4 separate regions of the Homo sapiens genome follow, and regions 2, 3 and 4 are each linked to region 1. Evidence: promoter capture Hi-C in 16 types of primary human blood cells and fetal thymus (Javierre and others, 2016). All regions are on one chromosome and are shown on one strand. The core of a region is centred on a gene start or on the middle of the fragment in contact, and the rest is flanking DNA. Distances in the headings are between cores, read along the strand shown. Region 1 holds the start of H1-1 (H1.1 linker histone, cluster member). Region 2 holds the start of TRI-AAT5-2 (tRNA-Ile (anticodon AAT) 5-2). Region 3 has its middle 2.7 kb from the start of H4C9. Region 4 holds the start of TRH-GTG1-5 (tRNA-His (anticodon GTG) 1-5).

The links. The method cuts DNA at HindIII sites, captures the fragments that hold promoters and counts their contacts. A CHiCAGO score of 5 or more calls a contact.
Region 2: a contact is called between a fragment that was not itself captured here and the fragment with the promoter of H1-1 in region 1, in 1 of 17 cell types (naive CD8 T cells). The highest score is 5.1, in naive CD8 T cells.
Region 3: a contact is called between a fragment that was not itself captured here and the fragment with the promoter of H1-1 in region 1, in 13 of 17 cell types (naive CD8 T cells, fetal thymus, activated CD4 T cells and 10 more). The highest score is 21.6, in naive CD8 T cells.
Region 4: a fragment that was not itself captured here is called in contact with the fragment with the promoter of H1-1 in region 1 in 5 of 17 cell types (activated CD4 T cells, naive CD4 T cells, fetal thymus and 2 more); the score reaches 13.5 in activated CD4 T cells.

What each region holds. Positions count from the first base shown.
Region 1 is chr6:26,016,210-26,019,776 of GRCh38, forward strand. It overlaps H1-1 (H1.1 linker histone, cluster member), which reads right to left and starts at 1,578. Exons shown (of 1, transcript NM_005325.4): 1 at 823-1,578. The coding sequence starts at 1,523. The coding sequence ends at 876. It also overlaps the pseudogene H3P26. RefSeq lists an enhancer at 1-770. The HindIII fragment of the contact is 5,921 bases long and covers 245-3,567 here.
Region 2 is chr6:27,175,293-27,178,669 of GRCh38, forward strand. TRI-AAT5-2 (tRNA-Ile (anticodon AAT) 5-2) reads right to left here and starts at 1,996; the gene lies at 1,923-1,996. RefSeq lists a cis regulatory region at 1,835-2,912, a silencer at 1,902-2,051 and enhancers at 2,254-2,453, 2,644-2,743, 3,094-3,153. The HindIII fragment of the contact is 1,154 bases long and covers 1,136-2,289 here.
Region 3 is chr6:27,140,220-27,143,749 of GRCh38, forward strand. It overlaps a transcript of H2BC12 not described here. Among named protein-coding and RNA genes, the nearest start is that of H4C9, 2.7 kb to the left of the region's middle. RefSeq lists an enhancer at 1-203. The HindIII fragment of the contact is 4,423 bases long and covers 1-3,530 here.
Region 4 is chr6:27,157,324-27,160,445 of GRCh38, forward strand. It overlaps TRH-GTG1-5 (tRNA-His (anticodon GTG) 1-5), which reads left to right and starts at 804; the gene lies at 804-875. RefSeq lists a silencer at 915-964. The HindIII fragment of the contact is 2,858 bases long and covers 1-2,744 here.

The sequences.
Region 1 (3,567 bases), core at 328-2,827:
ACCAGGGTTGAAAATCCTGCACGACTGATGAAACACGATCCAGTTAAGCACAGTAATTTTCAAATATCCAATCAGGGCGCTTCCGTTTCTAAAAACAGAGAAACCGAGCAAGGGATTTTGGGTTGCAGCTCTAAAACTCCAACAAACTAAGCTCCTTTGTCCTGACAAGGGCCTAAACCAAGTCGACAGCCCGTAAGTGCACCCATGGTAAGGCGCTGCACAAAGAAAGCATTTTGCGTTTCAAAGCTTTGTCATGATGGCGCTGCAGAAAGCAAGCGAGCTAGGCCTACCTGGCGGGGCTTTCAGAGGACGCCAACGTGGGCGCCAGCCACGCCAGCAGGGTCACCGTCCTTCCCAAGGACAGACAGCTCGCTAGCCACTCCTGTGGAGAGGGCGTGGTTAAGCCATATATTTTGCCAACTATCCCAGAAGCATTTCTTAGGACCACCCAATTTCGGAAAATGCTACTTTAGCAATATTGACCCCAAAACGCAATATCCCCACTTTAACCTTGTATAATAAAAAGCCTCAAGCCTGGGACTGGGCTTCAACCTTGGTTCAATACGGTTATGACTAATTAGCTTGGAGTCGTGAGACGCGGGACTTCCGGCTACCGAAACCCAGGTGACTTTAAAACTCGATTTTAACTCGGTGCATTTGAATTCACCTTGCTATCTTTGATAGATTGAGTAGTAAATTCTTACTAGATGAGGCTATGTTAAAGTTCTATCGACTCTCCAAGTGATTCTAATATAATTGAGGGCGTGTTGCATTTGCTTGGGGGATTTCATCTGTGTACTACAGCTCTTTTCCTGAAATGCGTAGGTGGCTCTTAAAAGAGCCGTTGGGTTACTAGAAGAAACTTCTAACTGAATTTACTTTTTCTTGGGTGCCGCTTTCTTGGGTTTGGCAGTCTTTGGCTTCGTCACCCTAGCCTTGGCCGCCTTGGGTTTTACAGCCTTAGCTTTAGCAGGGCTTTTAGCTACTTTCTTGGGCTTTACAGTTTTGGGTTTTTTTGGATTCTTGGAGGATTTCCTTGTTGCCGCAGGCTTTTTAGCCTTTTTCGGAGTCTTGACGCTCTTTTTGCTAGCCCCCGTGGCCTTTTTGAGCTTTTTAGATGCACCCGTTGCCTTAGTTTTTGTAGCCACCTTTGAGGCGCCGGGCTTGGTTTCCACGGAGGACGCCTTCTTGTTGAGCTTGAAGGAACCCGAGGCTCCGGTACCCTTTGTCTGCACCAACGTTCCCTTGCTTACCAGGCTCTTAATGCCCAGCTTAATGCGGCTGTTGTTCTTCTCCACGTCGTAGCCTGCGGCCGCCAGCGCCTTTTTAAGAGCTGCCAACGACACACCACCACGCTCCTTAGAGGAGGAAGCAGCCTGCACGATCAGCTCTGACACGGAAGGGCCAGCGGGTTTTTTCTTGGAGGCTGCTGCAGCCTTAGCAGGTTTCTTTGCCTTCTTGCCAGCTAAAGGTTTCTCAGGAGCAGCAGAAGCGGCGGGGGCGGGAGGCACTGTTTCAGACATGGTGACTAACACAGCACACCAAATAAAGTGGTATAAACCTGACGAAGCAGGATGCGAAAAAAAGGCCCCAACGCAGCCTATTTATAGGGTGGGACTGCGCCGTGATTGGTGCCCGTCAGTGCCCGCCCCTCGCGCCCTAGCGCCCCCTGCGCGCTGCCGAGGGTTTCGCCCAGTCTCAGAAGGCAGCTGGGGGCCTCTAGGGCCTATGGTCCTGCTCCCCTCAACGCAAGCAAACACACAGAAAAAGCCGCTCTGGTTGCCTCATTGTGAAGGAAATTGTAGGCAGACTGCCGCCCAGTAACATCAGAGGGTACCGCTTCTCTCTCAAAAAGCAGCTCTTTTTTAGGGAGTAGGTTGAGAGGGGGCGGTTTACAAATGCAGTGCCACAAGCATCCGAGGAGTTTTATTAGAAATTTTTAGAGGTCCGTTGCCAGAGATGTTAGTTTTTAATTTGCAAGAAATGTAAAATACAGTGTTTTGAATAGTTGCGGAGGGAGAGAAAAGTGCGAGTTTTAGGCCGTGTTAGGGCCAGTTGTCATCAACTCTATTACATTTTCTGGCAATGTTTTAGAGCGATGTGTCTCGCGAATACCTTTCACGTCAAACAAGAATGAATCGTAGACAACACCAGAATTCACAAACGCTGCAATTAATACTCAAACTGCAAGTGTGGAAACGTTTCTGCACTTGCAACTTATTTCCACAGTCCAATGTGGGATGCACTTCAGGAATTTCCAATGCCCTTTTCATCCATACAACATGCCCCAAATTGGTATTAAGGTTTACAACCTGTGTTCCATGTCAGCACACGCAATCAGCGCACCATGACATGGTCAACTCATTCTTTTATTCAACAAATATTTATGGGCCTCACAAGCCTGCGAAAGGCGTTAAATGCTGGGTCCACGAAACCGGTTCCCTGACAGGCATTCTGCTGGGGAGTTAAGTCCACTTAGTGTGAAAGCAAACACGGGTGATAAATGCAAGCACACCCTGGGGATAAGATTTTATGGTAACAACCCTTTAACTTGTTTGTGGCTGTTAAGTGCATTTCAAAGTATCAATAAGCTAAAACGATCTCACATTGCCAATCAGAGACTCAGCTAATGGGAGAATAAAAAACTATTAAATCGACATCCACTTCTACAATCCTATTCTGGATAACCCCCTAGCACAGCACAGCAGAGAGTGAGGTAATGCGGTCTTATTTCCGCTCCTGCTGTGGTAGTTTTCAAATAAGTCCGAACCATGCTAAGTAACCTGAGCTTTTCCCCTTTTTGTTCAAACAACGTGCCAACCAAATAATGGAGTGGTCCCAGATAAGTATTGTACCCATCTTCTGCACCAGTGCTTCCTACGTCCCATTTTATTGAGAAGGCATGCATTCAAATATTTCACGTAATTTCTAAAAATTTGGAAAATAACGGTTGGAAACTCTACATCTTGGTTTGACGGCTAGTCAGTTATGAAACACAGGTATACAAAATTGGAAGATTTTTGTAAGTAAACCCTTTGTGAAAGATATAAACCTTTCTTAGTGTAATAAGCGAGGTATCTGAAAAAACGCAACTTTTGAAAAGGAAATACTCCTAATTATCTGATTCAGGAGTTTCCACTTTAAATAATGGGTTCTGCCTCCCTTTTTTCTATTGGGTTAAACTGGTTTCAAATAAAATGGGAACGCTCCATGCAAATGAAGGATGATAGATCTGCTTTCTAAATGGCTGTTCAAGAAAATAGCCTAAACCAATCAAAAGATAGAATGTGGCCTGTCTCTTGTGAATTTAAAAAGGTCACAATCCACTTTTCAGTGTTTTGAGATTTTCAAAATGATTGCATTAGCTCTTGGCAATGCTAAATTATGTTCCTTGCGAACCACTATCCAGTTTCTCTTGGGCCAAGTCCACCTCCTGCTCCGCAAGAGGAACAACTCCCAGCTGGTGGTACCTGGCGGCAGTGCTGGAGAAACGCCATTTTGTGACTGGCAGAGTACACCTAGGCTTTAGAAAACAAAAGCTGCAGAACGCTGCAAGTTTAGGATTCA
Region 2 (3,377 bases), core at 463-2,962, 1.2 Mb after region 1:
GGAATCCTTCTTATACTTAAATCTGTATATATCATCTAATATACAATGGACTAAGTAGTAGGTACTCTTCATTAATTTATTCTAAAGAAATCTTTTTCAGTCGCTGACTTTGAGCTACTTACTGTTTTTGACGTGAAAAATCACAGCACTGAGCAAAACAGAGGGAGCCCCTTCCCTTTGTGATTCGCCCACTATGTCCTTGGCGCTGTTTTTGAGCCATTATTTACCTCATTATTTATCAATATTGTTAATGTCATTTTCATAGCAACCCATGTTTTAAAATAAGAGAAGGGTAAAAATATGTTGGGAGGATGAAGAGTGAAGGAAGAAATGTAAATGAGACACGTGCCAGGCACACGGGGACCCAGTGACCAGACTCCAAGAAAGCGCAGGACAGGGCTGGGCGCGGTGGCTCACGCCTGTAATCCCAGCACTTTGGGAGGCCGAGGCGGGCGGATCACGAGGTCAGGAGATCGAGACCATCCCGGCTAAAACGGTGAAACCCCGTCTCTACTAAAAATACAAAAAATTAGCCGGGCGTAGTGGCGGGCGCCTGTAGTCCCAGCTACTTGGGAGGCTGAGGCAGGAGAATGGCGTGAACCCGGGAGGCGGAGCTTGCAGTGAGCCGAGATTGCGCCACTGCACTCCAGCCTGGGCGACAGAGCGAGACTCCGTCTCAAAAAAAAAAAAAAAAAAGAAAAAGAAAAAAAGAAAAAAAAAAAGAAAGCGCAGGACAGAAAGAGCGAGGTGCTAAGACTTAGAGTGGACCCAGAGGCTCTGGCCCTCCTGTCTCCCACCACGCACTCCATTTTTGTCACATTTCAAACCTATCGCTTTTACGATATATGTTCAAAAATTGTTTAATGAACTGTAAATGGCTTGGTAAGGGCCGCATCGTAAATGGCTTGGTATGGGCCACATCGAGAACAGCTGTCAAATATAAGCCTAAGGCTAACCACGGATCTATTTTAACACTGAGCAGTTGTGGCTGAGTGTCTGGAGCTTGGCAGAAAGCAACGTCACAAGTCTGGCTTTTTCCCACGTAGACTGAACCCTCGCCCTCAAAGCTACAAACACAACAATTTAACCAACTGAGTGATCAACTAGGAGAAGAATCAATATGATCTCTTTCAAAAGCTTAAAATATGTCAAAATAGTATTATCTCAGAAAGTTTTTTTTTCCCAAAATAATACAAGACATTATCGAATTCTTATTTAACCCTTTTCTAAAATCACCCACCCACCTCATTGAATTTCCTTTAAAAAATCTTCATCCTGGCCGGGCGCGATGGCTCATGCCTGTAATCTCAGCACTTTGGGAGGCCAAGGCAGGCGGATCACCTGAGGTCAGGAGTTCAAGACTAGCCTGGCCAACATGGTGAAACTCCGTCTCTACTGAAAATACAAAAATTACCCAGGCATCGTGGCACACGCCTGTAATCCCAGCTACTTGGGAGGCTGAGGCAGAAGAATTGCTTAAACCTGGGAGGCGGAGGTTGCAGCGAGCCAAGATCGCGCCGCTGCACTCCAGCCTGGGCGTCAGAGCAAGACTCTGTCTCAAAAACAAACAAAACAAACAAATAAGAAAAACCTTTTCATCCTAACTCGTATATTATTTCTTCAAAAGAATAAAAAACGTGCAAATCTAATGCTTGTCTAGCTATTGCGACCACATTTACAAATGGATAGGCAGCGCTCCGGAGTTGGATGTAAGACGGTAGTATACAATCCAGGTGTGGTCGATTTAAGAAAAAAAAAAAAGAAAAAAGAAAAAAATTCCTGTCTAGCTAGTGCAACTACATTTATAAATGGATAGGCGAGGCTACGGAGTTCGATGTAAAACCGAAGTTTACAAGCGAGGTGTGGTCGGTGTAAAATAAAAACGAAAAAGAAGAAAAAAAAAAAAAACAAACCCACGGAAGTGGCCCGTACGGGGATCGAACCCGCGACCTTGGCGTTATTAGCACCACGCTCTAACCAACTGAGCTAACCGGCCTCCTTGGTGGGAGGGTCTTTTCTTATGTTTATTTAAATCATACCTGATCCATGCCCGCTGAATTTTTTTTTTTTTGTAATAGAAGCGTTACTTTCCCTTTTATTAATAAAATATATTTTTTTTTAAGAAAAGGAGAATTCCTCACTGTAGGCACAGGAAAACCATGCTGTTTCAGGGAAAACAATCTCAAACCACTGATTCTGACTGGAGAAAACTCAGATTCAACGACCCCAAGCAGGGCTTCCTTCCCCTCACCAGGTGAAGGACTCAGAACAAACCAAAAAGCAGCTCCAAGCTTGCGATCGCGGCCAGTTCCTCACGGAACCAACCGCAGAGCCGCCGCAGGTTCGCAGGATCGGAGGGTTCGGAGGACTCGGAGGGTGCGGATTCCTCTCTGCTCCTTGAGACCATTCCAGCCAGGTGGGCTCTTAGGCCTGGGAACCTGGGAAAGTGCACTGTCTCGCCTCCTGGCCTCGCGGTGGTTCCGCAGTCACCAGGACCCGAAATTCACAGCTGTGCGTCCTAAGCTTGCAGCTCCACAAACGATAAAATCAGACTTGGCCCTGCAGTGCCGGGCACCGGGCCCTTGGTGATGCTCGAGTGCCGGGCTGGCATCGGCGTAAATGAAAGGACCAGCGGGACGGCTCCTTTCAAGAGTCTCTGACTCCTTCCGTCCCGGGAAGACCAAGACACCCACATCTAAGACAAGGGAAGTCACCATTATCTACACCAATGATAAACGCCGGTATCTGGGAGGAACTGAGCCCAGGACCGGGTCAGGCAACTCAGAGTGTTGGGACAACTAAGTCCCTCTTCAAAGACTCAACTTTCTTGTCATAAGTTGCAAAAGTTGTACGTCAATCCTGCCTGCCCCCCGCCCCCCACCACACACATACACTCCTTTTTTTCGCAAATCCAGGGTTTACCCTATTTGCCAAAGTTTAAGTCTTAGCCAATCGGGATCAGCTTAGATTGTGCGGTCCAACCCCAGCCAATAGGGGAAGGACACAGAAACAGGAACTGCGTTAGGATTAAAAACTCCTTACCTCCTTTGTTTGGTGTGCTCTTGCAATTGTAACAGGCAAGGAGCACCCTTCTGCAGAAGTAAAGATGCCTTGCTGAGGAATTTTCTAAGTGAGGGTTTCTTTTGGCTACACCAAGCACTTGTTTCCAGTAAATCTTAGGGACTCGTCCGGGATCCCATTCTCCTTCGGGAGGGGCTAGCGATTATCTTTCATGGGGAGACGCGTCCCATTGCCTCGTGGTGGCCCCAGGAGCGGAGGATCGAGTCCCGCCCGAAGTGACGAATAAATCCGGACTCTCAGCAACGCGGACAGTAGGGAGGATCCTTAAGAATTCTGTGAGACCAGCTTGGTCAATA
Region 3 (3,530 bases), core at 416-2,915, 1.1 Mb after region 1:
CCACACCACTTATTCAAGTGCATCTAAAATCCTTATGTCCCTTTCTCAGTAGCACAGCCCTCCCTTTTTCCTATCTAGAATTAACTAATATTCTAGGATAAACTGATATTCTAAATTTGTTTACTGTTCCCACGCGTTTTAACTTTAGATGCACATACCCCTAATCTATTTTAATCGTCATGAATTTTTACATTTGCTCTTGAAATATATCCGTGTTGAAATGTGCAGTTCTAGGTTATTTTTACCATTAATCTAGTTTTCTAATGTGTCAGTAAATACTTTATTCATTTCTCTGTTGATTTTTTTTCCTCATTACAAAACAGCACTGTATACAGCTGTGCATTTTCTGGTTACATGGAAGTGGAATTATTTGGTAAATGTGCATATTCAACATGAATAAAAATGAACAATTTGCTTTCCAGGGTAGTATTTTAAATTTATACTCCCATATTCCACCAGCAGTGCTTGAGAGTTATTGTTTATCAGCATTTCCTAATGTGAAATCGGAGTTTTTCTAAATGAGATTTTTGGCTATTTGGAGATTTTCCCGCTTTCCTCGGAATGGTCTATTCAGATTCTCTACAGTTTTTATTTTATGAGATTTGATTTGTAAATATTCTTTATATATTTGAGTTTTAACTTTTTGTCAGTATGTGACAAATATATTCTGTCACCTTGTGGGTTTGTTTTTAACTGTTCGTGATATCTTTGGATGTGCAAAATTTTAATAATGTTGGATTTATATTTTTTATAGTTTTTGAATGCTGCCTTTTCATAAAGGAGTTATCTGACTTCCACTTTCCCCAGGAGCTACAGGCATCAATCTGGGGGAAAAAAAAAAAACAAAAAACATTTAGGCGGCTTATGTCCTGATTTGGCTTGAATTGGATAGTAAGGCTTTTCTGAAATCGCTGTAAGAGTAGCATCAAGAGCGAGCTAAGGGAAGACCTGATAAAAGATTGATCTTACTTTCTAAATAAGCAATGATTAACAATACCTAAAATTTTCAAAGTATTACAAAAGGGACAAAAGAAAGGGTGAAAGAGGAAAGTAATGCCTAAGATACACTGAAAGTTTGTTGAAAATTGTTAAGTGCTTTACATGGATTATCTCGTATCTCATATTCTTGTGAGATAGATTTTATTACTCTTATTTTAAAATGGCAAAAGAGGCCAAATCAAATAACCAATTCACAAATGTTAGATTTTATGACCCAAACTTGTCTTTCTTTAATTTTTATTATTCCAGGAGCATAGATTCAAATTGCCCCGAACATACACTCACTCAAACCTGTAATATTCTTAATCACACTCTCTTAGTAGATAGATAAGCCATCACAGAGAGTAGTAGTGGTGCTAGTCCTATAATGAAGAATTTGGGGAAATGTGTCAGGACAGATGCAAAACCTGCTTGTCACTTAATCCCAATTGGAATGAATTATTTTCATGTGTCAGTTTGTGGGCCTGAGAAAGTCGTTTTTATTTTGTGTCTATATAGTTATGTTATTGTTAAATCTGCAGCAATGTAACACGTCCTTCCCTGTCATTTTTCATGTTCCAAGCCCAATGGATTAAACACTCCCTTAGGAAAAACCGTAGTAGGTGGTGATGCCAGAAGGAATTGTAATCCTTTGCATAGTGCCCTAGTGGGTTTTAGGTCAAGTTCTGCTCATTGAGTGTCTTATGGTATAGCACTAGCCATGCATGGAGTTTGAGCACTTACAATGTGGCATGTGACTGAGGGAGTAAGTGTTTAATTATATCTTAATTAGTTTACTTTTAAAAACTGGTGCTGGATTCAATTAGATAGCATTCAAGTATACTTGGAACACCTTAGGGACATGAATCAGAATCATCTTATTCTAATTACAGATCAAGAATTCCCCACGAAAATTTATTTTGATATACCATAAAAGTGTAAAATACACACCAGATTTTGAAGATTTGAAATGAAAAAAGAATACAAGATATTTAATACATTCTGTATTGACTATATGCTGAAACTATATTTTTGATATATTCTGTCAAATAGGATACACTATTAAAATTAACTTTTTTAACTTTTTTTTTGGAGACGAACTCTCGCTTTCGTCCCCCAGGCTGGAGTACAATGGTGTGATCTCGGCTCACTGCAACCTCCGCCTCCCGGGTTCAAGCAATTCTCCTGCCTCCGCCTCCCAAGTAGCTGGGATTACAGGTGCGTACTACCACGCCAGGCTAATTTTTTTGTATTTTAAGTAGAGACATGTTGGCCAGGCTGGTCTTGAACTCCTGACCTCAGGTCATCCGCCTGCCTCGGCCTCCCAAAGTGCCGGGATTACAGGCTTGAGCCACTGTGCCCAGACAATTTTTTTTAACTTTTAAAAATGGTTACTGGAAAGATAAGTACATGTATGACGTATTACATTCCCCCCCTCCTTTTTTTTTTTTTTTTTTTTGAGACAGTCTCGCTCTGTCGCCCAGGTTCGAGTGCAGTGGCACAATTTTGGCTCACTGCAACCTCAGCCTCCCGGGTTCAAGCCATTCTCCTGCCTCAGCCTCCCAAGCAGCTGGGACTACACTCATGTGAAACCATGCCCAACTAATTTTTGTATTTTTAGCAGAGACGGGGTTTCACCATACTGGCCAGGCAGGTCTCAAACTCCTGATCTTGTGATCCACCCACCTCGGCCTCCCAAAGTGCTGGGATTACAGGCATGAGCCATCGCACGTGGCCACATTATATTTCTATTTGAGTAGTGTCTTAAGAGTAACAAACTGGCTTTCAGACACATACAATAAAGACAAAAAAATCCTAGTTCAATAAAGAATGAGAAAGTAGGATAAAGCAAATGAACAAATTTCCCAGGCCCAGTGCGGTGGCTCACTGGCCCGGTTCACGCCAGCACTTTGGGAGGCCAAGGCAGGTGGATCACCTTAAGTCAGGAGTTCAGGACCAGCCTGGCCAACATGGTGAAATCCCATCTCTACTAAAAATATAAAAACTAGCCAGGCATGGTGGTGGGCACCTGTAATCCCAGCTACTCAGGAGGCTGAGGCAGGATAATTGCTTGAACAAAGGAGACAGAGGTTGCAGTGAGCTGACACAGTGCCACTGCACTCCAGCCTTGGCGACAGAGTAAGACTGTCTCAAAAAAAAGAAAAAAATTTCCTTTCCTTCACTTATATTCCTGAAGATAGAGATAAGGTCTTCTCCCAACTGTACTTATACCTCAGGTAATATCAAGAAAGTAGTGACATGATATATTACAATTCATAGGCATTGAGTTGTGAGATTTGCTCCTTTGTATTAAGCACTTGAAGAATTACTAAGTTTTTCCAGCTCATCTAGGGTAGAAAGCCATGCCATTTTCTTAGGTCCACTGACCTCTTTACTTCCAACTTCTAGACTTAAAGATACTAGATAACAGCAGAGACCAAACATATGATTGCCAAGTCCCTAACCACAGTTAAATAAACCTCCACTTTTCAATCCCAGAGCTACTCTCAGTTTCCCAAAGGATGGGAGAATCTGAAGCAGGCAATTATTCT
Region 4 (3,122 bases), core at 66-2,565, 1.1 Mb after region 1:
GATCAGTTGAGTTCAGGAGTTTAAGACCAGAATGATTTTACAGAAAGAAAATCATTTGGTATCAAGGGGAAAACACGACCAGGACCTTGACTCTAGAGGCTACGTTCCTAAAACAGCAAGCGGGGCAGGAGGGAAGTCCCACGGAGCTTTGGAGCCACAGGAGAGGCACTTTTATCTCCCTCTTCTGGCAAACTAGGTATGAAAGGGAGAAAGAAATTTCACTCTGAGGTGCGAGCGCCGCCGGACATTTCCTGACGGCTCAGGTGGGCAGGCTGAGTGCGCGAGCGCCTCACTGGCTTCTCATAGGTACCTGGGTCAGGACGAAGCCACATAGTTCCTCGTGATGAGAAACTCACTTCTGGCACCTGTCGAGATGCCAGATTCCATGCCAAGCCCCCGAAGATTCTGACTAGTTTGGCAAAAAATGGGATCTGGCAGGTCCACTTCAAAGCAGCGCCCTCTTCCTTTTGTTGCCAAAGATCTGAGGACCACACTGCTAAACTGAGCAAGAAACATGCGTGGGTTGGAGATAGAAGTGAGAATAATGAGTTTACAAGCACAGTATTACCAACCCCCAAAAACAACCACCACGCTGGGAAAATTCCATATAATGAAACTTAATGTGTTACCTTTGGCTTCTTTGCCATAAGCAAAATATTGGGGACGGGGAGTGGATAAGGAAGTAAACTGGGTAGGTGTGTAAATAAGGACGAAAGACTGCACCATTCTTTAGATGACAAAAACAGACGTTTCTGGGAAATAAGCAAAGGAAGAGCCCCACAAGCAGCGGCCTCTGGTGGCGTGCCGTGATCGTATAGTGGTTAGTACTCTGCGTTGTGGCCGCAGCAACCTCGGTTCGAATCCGAGTCACGGCAGTACCTTGATGTCGCCTCAATTTCTCAACGTACTGAGCAGTACCTTGACGTCGCCTCAATTTTTCAACATACTGGAGTGGAGACAGTCTCGGAAAAACCCTTGCAAAATTGAATTGACTTACGATCTAATCTGTACACAAAAAACACTAGTATTCATCATGGTGCCCCAACCAGTCAGCCAAGCAGAGAGTGTCTACGCTTGTTGCCTTGTCTTTTTTTTCCCCTCTCCAAAGATTCTCTTCCCAACCCTACCCAAGCCCTACAGTCTTGTTGGCATTGGCTGTATGTGAAGAAACTGAGGTAATTTTTTTTTAATGGAAAACTTTTACTTTCAAACACTGGTAGGCATGAGGAAAGGACTGTTCAAAAGGGGATCCAGGTTTGTTGTGGAGATCTTTCTTAAAACACAAAAGACAAATTATTAATCACGCGTTTCTAAGTATCCTAGCTGGACCAATGCTGAAAAACTGTAACCTTTGATCATCTGGAGAAAATTAAAGAAATTTGAGTAATTGAAGGAATTTGGGTGGGGGGGAATAATGGCCCAGAAGAACAGCCCCCATTTCTAGCCCGTTCAGTTTCTAGAATGAGTTCTAAAGAGCCAAGTAGACTGGGTGAGGCGGGAGTGGAGGAGAGCTGATCTGAGATACGGAGGTGGCTGGAAAGAAGTAGTTGGTGCTACCTAGGACCAGTAGGAGGTGGCTGGAGACAGGCAGATCCCCAGAGGCGCTTCCATGAGCCCAGTTCTAGTTAGTAGCACAGCACTCTGAGAACACATTAATGGCACTTCGTCCCTCCTGGCCCTGGTGGAAGGTTAGTATTCAAACAGGTGTGGTGGCTCATGCCTATAATCCCAGCACTTTGGGAGGCCGAGGCGGGCAGATCACCTGAGGTCGGGAGTTCGAGACCAGCATGGCCAACATGGTGAAACCCCGTCTCTACTAAAAATACAAAAATTAGCTTGGCATAGTGGCATAGGCCTGTAGTCCCAGCTATTCGGAAGGCTAAGGCACGAGAATTGCCTGAACCCAGGCAGTGGAAGTTGCAGTAAGCCAAGATCACACCACTGCACTCCAGCCTGAGTGACAGAGTAAGACTCGGTCTCAAAAAAAAAGAATACTCATACTTTTAGCAACTTATCAAAAATTTCAGCAAAAGAGATTTGTTCTTTCCTTCTTGGGGCTAAAATAGCCCCCATTTCTTCTCCAACTGTCCATCCAGCTGACATGGATTCTGAAACTCAGAGATATTGTAATTGAGCTGAGCTGCCTTATACTGTAGGATATCATCTCTCCAACAGGTCAGGTTCTAGGCCTCTTCTCAGTAATTTAATAGCATTTGTAGTGGTTATTCATGTTCACTTGTATCACATTCTACTTCAATTTTCTTTTTAGTCTATTTTATCTTGACTCAGTCTTACAAGAGTGAAGACAGGGATCAAGTATGTATTGACCCTAAAGGATCAGTTCTTGTCAATTATTTTGCCACAAGTGAATGATAAAACTGCTAAAGCAATAAACATTTTGATCTTGCAATTCTCCAGAACACATTTTCTCAGATCTTACTGGCCTGAGTAGCAGAAATCTATGGACTCTGACTCAGAGGCTATCTCTTAGTGAGAGAGCTAGGGTCCTAGATCTATTACAGAATAAAATTGTAGTGACAAGTGAGTAATAGGGCTCAATAAAACCCATGCTGTATGATTTGCTCGAAAAGTAGAGAGCTTGCTTGGCGTGTACCATATGATACTCAGTGCAAAGCACATGTTTATCTTAGAGGTGTGAAGTTCTCTGGTTCACAATAATGTTTTGCAGCTTTGAGTGAGCATTGCTAGAAATCTGGTATAAACAGGGGAATTGTGAGATTAAAAGCTTGCATTTTATGAATGCACTAATATTGGTATGGAAGTATCTTACACAGTCTGCCAACCACATTTTCAGAAAGAAAACTGTTTTACTCTACCTATGGCATTCATGGTCTTGAAATGACTTTTTAATATTTCTATGTTTTATCATTCTCATCTCTCCATGGAAATTAATGAAAGTTACCACCTTCTAAGATTGTTCTAAAGATTTAAGGGTGGTAAATGCATGATGGCACTAGCTCAGTAAGGTACAAACAAACAAACAAAATAATAAAATAAGCCATTTTTGGAGCTAAATAAATAAATATCATTGCTACTTAAGTGGTGGAAGGCCTTCATGCAGTAGTAATATTGCAAAGACTGGTACCAGACTCAGCATCTAT